3 separate regions of the Homo sapiens genome follow, and regions 1 and 2 are each linked to region 3. Evidence: promoter capture Hi-C in human tissues and cell types (Jung and others, 2019). All regions are on one chromosome and are shown on one strand. Each heading gives the region's core, a stretch centred on a gene start or on the middle of the fragment in contact. The rest is flanking DNA. Distances are from core to core; before and after follow the strand shown. Region 1 overlaps LDLRAD3 (low density lipoprotein receptor class A domain containing 3). Region 2 has its middle 47 kb from the start of LDLRAD3. Region 3 holds the start of LDLRAD3 (low density lipoprotein receptor class A domain containing 3).

Evidence for each region. The method cuts DNA at HindIII sites, captures the fragments that hold promoters and counts their contacts. A contact is called where the count stands out against the background at its distance.
Region 1: a fragment that was not itself captured here is called in contact with the fragment with the promoter of LDLRAD3 in region 3 in 1 of the 25 tissues and cell types used here (H1 embryonic stem cells).
Region 2: a fragment that was not itself captured here is called in contact with the fragment with the promoter of LDLRAD3 in region 3 in 1 of the 25 tissues and cell types used here (thymus).

The regions. Positions count from the first base shown.
Region 1 is chr11:35,986,625-35,990,224 of GRCh38, forward strand. All of the region lies in intron 1 of LDLRAD3 (low density lipoprotein receptor class A domain containing 3), which reads left to right. Among named protein-coding and RNA genes, the nearest start is that of MIR3973, 22 kb to the right of the region's middle. RefSeq lists an enhancer at 66-567. The HindIII fragment of the contact is 9,428 bases long and covers 1-3,600 here.
Region 2 is chr11:35,895,317-35,898,792 of GRCh38, forward strand. No RefSeq gene overlaps it. Among named protein-coding and RNA genes, the nearest start is that of LDLRAD3, 47 kb to the right of the region's middle. The HindIII fragment of the contact is 6,200 bases long and covers 1-3,476 here.
Region 3 is chr11:35,942,176-35,945,490 of GRCh38, forward strand. It overlaps LDLRAD3 (low density lipoprotein receptor class A domain containing 3), which reads left to right and starts at 1,887. Exons shown (of 6, transcript NM_174902.4): 1 at 1,887-1,969. The coding sequence starts at 1,924. RefSeq lists a silencer at 1,798-2,237. The HindIII fragment of the contact is 6,577 bases long and covers 1-3,315 here.

The DNA.
Region 1 (3,600 bases), core at 287-2,786, 44 kb after region 3:
TGATTGAGACTCCACCGTCTGCAACATTGCCACAGCAGGAGAAGAGATTGCAGGACCTGTTGTTGCCAGCTCCTCTGTTCACCCTAAAAGTGATACATGTCCCCTTTCTGCACATTCCATTGACCCAAACTAGTCACGTGGCCCTGCCTAACCTGGGAAATGGGAGGACTGTCAGATGAGTATCACTCTCTGCCACAGATGATGCAGAGCACACCTTTTGGTAATTAGTTCATTGAATCTGAGTAAAAGCTCAGGCATGAGTAGTGTTGGGCCCATTTACTAGAGAAAATGAAGACTTGAGCTCTTCAAAGTCAAGGGCTGTATCTCTAGATCTCTCACACCGGGCTGTCTGCCTCACACTTTTCTCAGCACTCAGCAAAGGTTAGTTGAGTTGAATGAATGAGGCATTTAAAATCTGTTTGAGTATTCGTCTCATTCACGGGGCTGCTTCACTTAGAATTTTGCTAATGTAGTTGTCTGCCTAAAGAGAATATTCATGCCTCCTGTGGTGGAGGTGGGTCAAGTACCAGCTATGACACATTTGTATATCTTGTTATGACACATTTGTATATCTTGCTGGCAAGAAACTACTGAAGTCTGCATATTTTTAGGGATCATCTTTTTAAAGAATAATTTCAACTTTTGTTTTAGATACAGGGGATACCTGTGCAGGTTTGTAACATGAGGGTATTGCAAGATGCTAGGGTTTGGGGCATGATTGATCCCATCACCCAGGTAGTGAGCTTAGTACCCAATACTTAGTTTTTCAGCCCTTGCCCTGCTCCCTTCCTCCTCTGTCTAGCAGTCTCCAGTGTCTGTTGTTGCCATGTTTATGTCCATGAATACCCAATATTTAGCTCTCACTTATAAATGAGAACATACGGTATTTGGTTTTCTGTTCCTGCATGAATTCACTTAGGATAATGGCCACCAGCTGCATCCATGTTGCTGCAGAGGACAAGATTTTGTTATTTTTATGGCTGTGTATGTAGTAGTCCATGGTGTATATGTACCATATTTTCTTTATCCCATCCATTGTTGATGGGCACCTAGTTTGATTCCATGTCTTTGCTATTGTGAATGGTGCTACGTTGAACATACGAGTGCATGTGTCTTTTTGGTGGAATGATCTATTTTCTTTTATATATATACCTGGTAATGAGATTGCTGGGTCAGTCAAATGGTAATTTTGTTTTAAGCTCTTTGAGAAATCTCCAAACTGCTTTTCACAGTGGCTGAACTAGTTTACATTCCCATCAACTGTGTATAAGCGTTCCGTTTGCTCCACAGCCTCACCAGCATCTGTTGTTTTTTGACTTTTTAATAATAGTCATTCTGACGGGTATGAGATAGTATCTCATTATGGTTTTGATTTGCATTTCTCTAATGACATTTTTAAAAATATGTTTCTTGGCCACTTGTATGCCTTCTTTTTTGTTCGTTTGTTTTTTGAGACATGGTCTCACTCTGTCACCCAGGCTGGAGTGCAGTGGCATGGTCACAACTCACTGCAGTCTCAATCTCGTCGGGTCAAGCCATCCTCCCATCTTAGCCTCCCAATTAGCTGGGACTACAGGCATGCGCCACTATGCCTGCTAATTTTTAAATTATTTTTTGTAGAGATGGGGTCTCACTATGTTGCCCAGGCTGGTCTTGAACTCCTGGGCTCAAGTGATTCTCCCACCTCAACCTCCCAAAGTGCTGAGATTACAGGCATGAGCCAGTGTGCCTGGCTGTATGTCTTCTTTTGAGAAGTGGCTGTTCGTGTCTTTTGCCCACTTTTTAATGAGGTTATTTGATTTTTGCTTTTCGAATTAAGTTCCTTATGGATTCTGGATATTAGACATTTGTGGGATGCATAGTTTGTGAATATTTTCTCTCATTCTATAGGTTGTTTACTCTGTTGATAGTTTCTTTTGCTATGTAGAAGCTCCTTAGTTAAATTAGGTCCCACTTGTCAATTTTTTTTTTGTTTTTGAGTTGGAGTCTTGCTCTATCACCCAGGCTGGAGTGCAGTGGTGCGATCTTGGCCCATTGCAACCTCCACTTCCTGGGTTCAAGCGATTCTCCTGCCCCAGCCTCCCAAGTAGCTGGCTCTACAGGCACATGCCACCATGCCCTACTAATTTTTTGTATTTTTAGTAGAGTTGGGGTTTCACTGTGTTTGTCAGGATGATCTCGGTCTCCTGACCTCTTGATCTGCTCACCTCGGCCTCCCAAAGTGCTGGGATTACAGGCGTGAGTCACCATGCCTGGCCAGGTCCCACTTGTCAATTTTTGTTTTTGTTGCAGTTGCTTTTGAGGACTTAGCTATAAATTCTTTGCCAAGACTGATGTCCAGAATAGTATTTCCTACGTTTTCTTCTGGGAGTCTTATAGTTTGTGGTCTTATATTTAAATCTCTATCTTGAGTTAATTTTTGTATATAGTGAAAGATGGGTGTTCAATTTCATTCTTCTGCTTATAGCTAGCCAGATATCCCAGCACCGTTTACTGAATAGGAAGTCCTTTCCCCATTGTTTATTTTTGTCGACTTTGTAAAAGATCAGATGGCTGTAGGTGTGCAGGTTTATTTCTGGGTTCTCTCTTCTGTTCCATTGGTTTATGTGTCTGTCTTTGTACCATTACCATGCTGTTTTGGTTCGTGTAGCCCTATAGTATAGTTTGAAGTCCAGTAATGTGATGCCTGCACCTTTGTTCTTTTTGCTTAGGATTGCTCTGGCTCTTTGGGCTCTTTTTTGGTTCCATATGAATTTTAGAATTACTTTTCTCTAATTCTGTGGGAAATGACATTGGTAGTTTGATAGGATTAGCATTGAATCTGTAGATTGCTTTCGGCAGTATGGCCATTTTAACAATGTTGATTATTCTAATCCATGAGCATGGAAGGTTTTGTTTGTTTGTTTGTGTCTATGATATCTTTCAGCAGTGTTTTGTAATTCTCCTTATAGAGATCTTTCACCTGCTTAGTTATATGTATTCCTAACCAAGGAATATATCTTGGTTAGGTATGTATTTTATTTGTTAATTTTTTGTGGCTATTATAAATGGGATTGTGTTCTTGATTTGACTCTCAGCTAGAATGTTATTGGTGGGTAGAAATGCTACTGATTTTTGTACATTGATTTTGTATCCCAAAACTTTACTGAAGTTGTTTATCAGTTCTGGGAGCCTTTTGTTGGAGTCTTTAGGGTTCTCTAGGTATAGAATCATATTGTCAGTGAAGAGAGATGGCTTGACATCTTCTTTTCCTATTTGGATGCCCTTCCTTTCTTTCTCTTGCCTGATTGCTCTGCTAAGACTTCCAGGGATCATCTGAAAACCTCATAGGAAAACCACTCTACAGACACAATGGCAATATTTGGTGCCTCTTAGCTAGTAGTTTGGGCTTGGGGTTTACTTAGAGTTATACAGCCTAGGGGCCTGATTCCTCCATTTGTTCTCTATGTGATTTTGACATTATGTTGAGTCTCAGTTTTTCCATCACCTATAAAGGCATGGGGGGTGGTTTGAAAATGCCCAGCTCTCAGGGTTGCCGTAAGGATTTTATTTATAGTAATGTTAGTTCCCTAAGGCTGTTGTAACAAATTCTTACCAACT
Region 2 (3,476 bases), core at 13-2,512, 47 kb before region 3:
TAACAAATTTTTAAATTTCAGATTCCATTGAAAAGCTGATGAACATCTAAAAAGAGAGAAGGTAGGGCTTATCTCCAAAATCAAAATGGTAGTTGCTTTTTTATCCTTGGGAGACTAGACTTGTCTTTAGGGTTCTTCAGTCCCTTCCAGAAGCCAGTTTTGTTTTTCCGTGTTTGTGTCTGTGGTAGACAGAATTTTGGCCCCCATTAAGCTGTGAAGTGTGTGGTAAGTTGTTATATAGCACTAGAAAACTAACAAAATCTAAATGTTTTCATTTAAAAAAATATTTTGGGGCTGGGTGCGGTGGCTCATGCCTGTAATCCCAACACTTTGGAAGGGCAAGGTGGGCGGATCATGTGAGGCCAGGAATTCAAGACCAGCCTGGCCAACATGGCGAAACTCCATCTCTACTAAAGATACAAAAAAATTAGCCAGACATGGTGGCACGTGCCTGTAGTCCTAGCTACTCTCGAGGCTGAGGCAGGATAATTTCTTGAACCTGGGAGGCAGAGGTTGCAGTGAGCTGAGATTGTGCCACTGCATGCCAGCCTGGGCAACAGGGTGAGACTCTATCTCAAAATATAAAATAAAATAAACATTTTGGTCTAGAATTTTGTTTTCTGTTTTGGTTCAGTTTGGTTTTTGGTATTCTTAGACTTGAATTCATTGCTGGATGATTCTCTATGTAGAAGTTCCCTGCCTCTCTTTGAAGACCACATCAGATGCCACTTCCTACAGGAAGCTTTCCCCAAGTAAGTCATTTGTTGTCATTAGCCTAATGGTCTTTGCTGGAAAAGTCCCCATTTGTTGGTGAGTGAGAAATGGGGGATGTGATACCATTTGGATATGTGTCCCCACCCAAATCTCATGTTGAGTTGTACTCCCTAGTGTTGGAGGTTGGGCTTAGGGGAAGGTGATTGGTCATGGGAGTGGATTTCTCATGAATGGTTTGGCACCATCCCTTGATGCTGTGCTTGTGATAGTTAGGGGGTTCTTGCAAGATCTGGTTGTTTAAAAGTATGTGGCACCTCCCCGCCTCTTGCTTCTGCTTTCGCCATATGACATACCTGCACCCCCTTCACCTTCTGTCATGATTGGAAGCTTCCTGAGGCCTCCCCAGAAGCAGATGCCACTATGCTTCCTGTACAGCCTGCAGAATCATGAGCCAATTAAACCTCTTTTCTTTATAAATTACCCAGTCTCGGGTATTTCTTTATAGCAATGCAAGAATTGGCCTAATACAGGGTGATAAAGGATTGAATGTATATATGAGGAGGGGGGGATGTTTGGGAGCCAGACAGAAAGATAAGTTCATTCATTCATTCGAGAAATATTGATCAAGCATCTATTATGTTTCTTCTAGGTGCTAAAGATACTCTGGTGAATATGACAGACAAAGTTTCCCTCTGTCTACATTGTAGAGGAGGCAAGCAGATAATACAGAAGTCAACAAATAAATAAAGAAAATTCTCCAGACAGCAATAAGTCCTACAGGGGGCAAACTTCCAGTAATACGTGAGAAACAGAAAAAGGAAGCCCCTTTAGAAACAGTTACTATTAAAGCCTTCGCTAAGAATGTGATTGTTGAGCTGAAACTTGGATGATGAGAAGGAAAATGTGCCCAAGAAGGGAAAGAGCAATTGCAAAAGCCCAGAGACTGGAGGGAACTTGATATGTTTTCTGAACAGGGTAAAAAAGGACTATTTGACAAAGAAGCAGTAAATGAGTGAGAAAGTACAGCCGAGGTCCGATTAGCAGACAGAGGCCAAATCAACTAACGTCTTGTAGATCACAATGAGGATGTGGGTTTTATTATATGTGTACTGGACAGCTAGTGGATGTGGAATATTATTGCAGCTTCTTCCAGACCAGACTCTTGCAGGAGTCAGATCTTGGGAAAGGGGTTGTGTGAGGTTGGAGCTGTAGGAGGATGCAGCTGCAGTCAGAACCATGGCAGGCTGGCAGGGATGATGGGAAGGAGAGAATAAGTATTCCAACTGCTCTAATCTTGCAGTCTCTTGCCAGTCCCTCCCGCTAGCTACAAAACAGAAAGGGAGAGGACAAAGCCACCTTGGTGATGCAGTTATCCAAGTGGTCAGCCTCACAGAAACAGGAGAGAATGTGTTGGAGAGGGCAAAGGAGATCATTACACACAGACTTGCTGTTTTAAGTACCTACAATGTCTTCTCAGCTAGCAGACTACTAGTTTATCTTCATAACTACCTACCAAAACCCACCCGGGCGGAGGGAGATAAGTGGAGTTAATGTATTCTAAGGTTCTTCCATTGTCCAGGAAGTAGTAAAAGTACTAATTAATACTAAACTATTATAAATCAGGAATGCATGGTATAAATTCTAAGGTGATCACTTAAAAAGGAGATAAAAGAATATATACCTAAAAGGCCAATAGAAGGGGGATATGGAATGATAAAAAAAAAACTTGACCAATTCAAAAGAAGACAACAAAGGAGAGGAAAAGGAATATAGAACAAAGAAAAGATAAATCATACAATAGATTTAAACCCAACTAAGTTATTATTTCAGTATTTCCATGAATGTACATTGACTGTGCTACAATTAAAATGTAAAAATTGTCTAATTGGATTTTTAAAAAATCCTCAACTATTTGCTACTTATAAGAAACATATCTTAAATATAAGGGCATAGAAAGCCTGGCTATAAATAATTGGCAAAAATATGCCATATAAGCATTAGGAAAAATAAGGATAATATATAGTCACGTATCAGAAAAAGTAAACTTTTTTTTTTTTTTGAGATGAGGTCTCACTATGTTGCACAGGCTAAAGTGCAGTGGCAAGATTGTGACTTACTACAACCTGGACCTCCTGGGCTCAAGCCATCCCCGCAACCCCAGCCTCCCAAGTAGCTGGGACTACAGATGCATGCCACCATGCCTGGCTAATTTTTATTTTTTGTAGATATGAGATCTCACTATATTGCCTAGGCTGGTTTCAAACTCCTGGCCTCAAGCTATCCTCTTGCCTTGGCCTCCCAAAGTGCTGGGATTACAGATGTGAGCCACCACATCTGTTCAGAAAAAGTAAACTTTAATGTAATAAGCATTACTAAAGATAAAGAAGGACATCTTACAATGAGAAACGGATTAATCCACTAAAAAGGTATAACACATCTAAATTTTTTTCTTTCTTTTTTCTTTTTCTTTTTTTTGTTACTGAAACAAGGTCTTGCTCTGTTGCTGAGGCTGGAATGCAGTGGCATGAACACAGCTCACTGCAGCCTCAGCCTCCTGGGCTCAAGCAATTATCCCACCTCAGTCTCCCAAGAAACTGGGACTACAGGTGCACGCCACCATGCCTGGCTAATTTTAGTAATTTTTGTAGAGATGGGGTTTCACATGTTGCCCAGGCTGGTCTTGAACCTTGGGCTCAAGCAATCTGCCTGCCTCAACTTCCCAAAGTGCTGCGATTACATGCATGAGCCACTGCACCTGGCCT
Region 3 (3,315 bases), core at 637-3,136:
ATAAATAAATAAATAAATACAACAGTTGACCTTAAATAAGGTTTTACATTAGTCCAAATGATTTCAAAGACATTAATATATTTATATTTAAAAGTGTGTGTGCCTGTGTGTATGTGAGAGAGAGAGAACGAGAGAGAGAGTCAGAGTCAAACTTGCAAAGTAAGGAAGTTGATGTGTCCAAAGAAACCTAAGGAAATAAGAACTATAGCAGTGGGTCAGTTGCATTATCTTTCCGTATCCCTAATGTTTGGAGGCAAATGAGCAGCTGTAGGAGAAATTATTTGCTTATTTGCCTCCTCAGATATTATTATCAAAGGCAGGAGGCCTCTTCCCAACAAGCTTCCCGGAACAATGCACATACCCACATGCACAGGACATTTTGCATAAAATTTTAAGGGCTTTAAAATTCTTTGAAGCCCATGGGACGATCTCCATAATATTCATCAATCCCAGGATAAAAGCCCCGAATGCCAAATCATTTAGATAATTGATTTATATTTTCCATGTGTACTATGAACTATGGAACTTAACCTTTCCTCCCTCACATCACATTTTCTCATTACCTTGAACAATCATTGGTATTTTTAAATTTTGACCTGATCCTTTTTAGCCTTTATGTTTCCAGACTACAGCACGCAATTACAGAGTAAAGTAATTGAATCTTAACACCCTTGAGGGTGTCTCCAGGGCATCCCAAAATCTGACGCAGGCATCCCTTTTATAACTGCCCCTGTACCCATACCTTCCCCTTTCTTTCAGCCAGGTGGAGTTTGTGTAAATAAACTCAACCCTTTTGAGGGGTGGATTTTAGGGATGCAGTTCTATTGTTTTGACAAATGTATACAGTTGTGTAACTACCTCTATAATCAAGATTAGAACAGTCCCACTGCCCCCAAAAGTTTTAATTTATTGATCCATTTATCAATTGATGGACACTTGAGTTGTTTCCAGTTTTTGGCAATTATTTGCGTTAGTCTTTTGCTTTTTTTGGGTGGGGGATCAGAGAGAGTGGAGCACAGAAGTGTCATCCCCTTCTTCCACCATCTAAGTCTTTTGGGGCTTTTCACCAGTGCCCTCTGGAAGCAAGTGCATTGGTGCAGCTATATTTTTTGCATTTGGGTATCTGCCTTTCATGACCTTTTCCTTTTTTTAATTTTATTTTTTCCAAATTGGGTCCCAAACGTTCAACAGGTCAAGGTGGACACTATGCAGACAAAATAACTCATGTGGTCCACGCTGTGTGCATGGTAGGTGTCAGCTGCTCTTACCGGTGGCTCCCGGATCATCAGCCTTGGAATCAGCCACCATGTTGTTAAAAATGCAGAATCTCAGGCTCCACGCCAGATCTACTGAACCAGAGTCAGTATTTTAACAAGATCGTCAAGTGTGCCGGATGCATATTAAAGTTTGAGAAGCACTGGTATTCCACACTCGCTACTAAAAATATACTACAATTTTCTCATAAGATTTGACCCTTTATTTTAACTTTTTCTCTCTCGGTAGTAAACTCACTTTGTAGTTTGAGTAAAGAACTCAAGTTTTGGTCTGGGCGCTGCATCTCGCTGGGTGTGGAAGCAAAGGCAGAAATGAGAGGGACAAAAGGAAGCAGAGAACAGAGCCCAGGCTGTTAGAAGATCCTCGCGGCCAGACCTGGGAGGCTGAAAGGCTGAGAGACCGAAAGGCTGAACCCTCCGCCGCGCTCGGCGGCCCCTCGGAGTCAGGACACCCAGGGTAACATGCGGGTGGCCACGCGCAGCCCAGGCGCTTGCAAAACTTAGCGGAGCCGGGCCGGGGCCGGGCCCGGGGAAGGCGGGAGGGAGGAGGGCCAGGCGGGAGGGCGGGGACGGCGCGGCGAGGGGCGGGGTCAGCGCCGAGGCCGCGGGGGCAGCAACGACGCCGGGCAGCGGGAGCGGCGGCCGCGCCATGTGGCTGCTGGGGCCGCTGTGCCTGCTGCTGAGCAGCGCCGCGGGTGAGTCGGGGGGCGGCCGGCGAACTTCCCGCGGGGCGCGGGGCGCGGGGCGCGGGGCGCAGCGGCCGGGTGCGATCGCGTCCTCTCCCGGGCGCGGGCCGCTCTCCGGGCGTGGGTGAGCGCGGAGGGCGGACCCCGGCGCCGGGCTGGCCCGGACCCTGCCGAGGGGCCGCCGCGGGGTGCGAGCCGTCCTATTGTGTGGGCGTGCGCGCCGGGTCGTGTTGTGCTGTGTGCGCGGGCGGGGCTCTGTGTGCAGTCCGGGTCTGGGGAGCCCGGCGGCTGCCCCGATTGGGCGTAGCTCGAGTGTGGCTGTGTGTGTGTTGTGTGTGTTGAGGAACGGAGGCGGGGAAAGGAAAGGAGAGGAGAGGAGAGAACTCTTCCCTGGTCTCATCTTCCCAGACGCCTGGTCGCGCGCGGCTGCGTTAGCCTCCTCTGGGCCTCTTCCCGAGTCTCTGGCGTGCACTCCGTGCCTCAGTTTCCCCACCTGCACCGCGGAGGGAGTAGCAAAGCTGCTTCCTTTCATTCCTCTCTGGGACTGTTTGGTTTGGGTAAAGTGAGTTGAAGCAAGGCCGGATCTGGGAATTCATTTTTCCCCACTGATCCTGGGAACCGAAGCTTTATTTAAGACGTCTGACCACCCTACTTGCCCCGCGATGGGCGCCCTGACCGGCGAGGGGCCCTGGGAGAGGACACGGGGCTTCATCCGGCGGCCCTTTGAACCTGGCATCACCACCGCGTGTGCATCCCGGGGCCTGGACCGCAGCAAGCCTCTTTCCCTTCCAGACAGCGTGCTGTTCCCAGGAACTTTTCTGCTGATGTGGGCATGATCCGAATTCCAGCCTGGGAGCCCTTCCTCCTCTGCCCCTGCCCGCCGCCCACAGCTGTCAGCTGTCCCTCCTGGACTGGGCCCGCCCTTGGCCCCTTGACGTTTATTTCTGGGCATCTGATGCCTAGAATGTGGGTGACAGGGCCCAGTGAACTTTCTTCAGCAGAATCTTGCCTGCCTGGTGTTTGTGCCATCCACATGTCCAATAGCTGCCCTATTTTGCCAAGTGCTTCTAGCAGCTTGGCTGTCGAGGTGTCTTTGGTGGCCTGTGGGTTTGCTAAGTTGAGGCTCACTTCATTCTTAGCTGTGCCTTGGAGTTATGAATGCGTTAAAGGGATATCTCCTCTCTTCCTTGATGTCCCTGGTCCTGGGCATCCTCACAGCCCACTGGGCAGCCTTTCCTGCTCTCAGACCCATGACATCATCTCCACTCCTCTGATACCCCATTTAGATGCTTATGGGTTTGCTGGGCTTCCAGGGAGGGACTAGACCTCCTGGTGACTGCTGTGGATTTTTAACC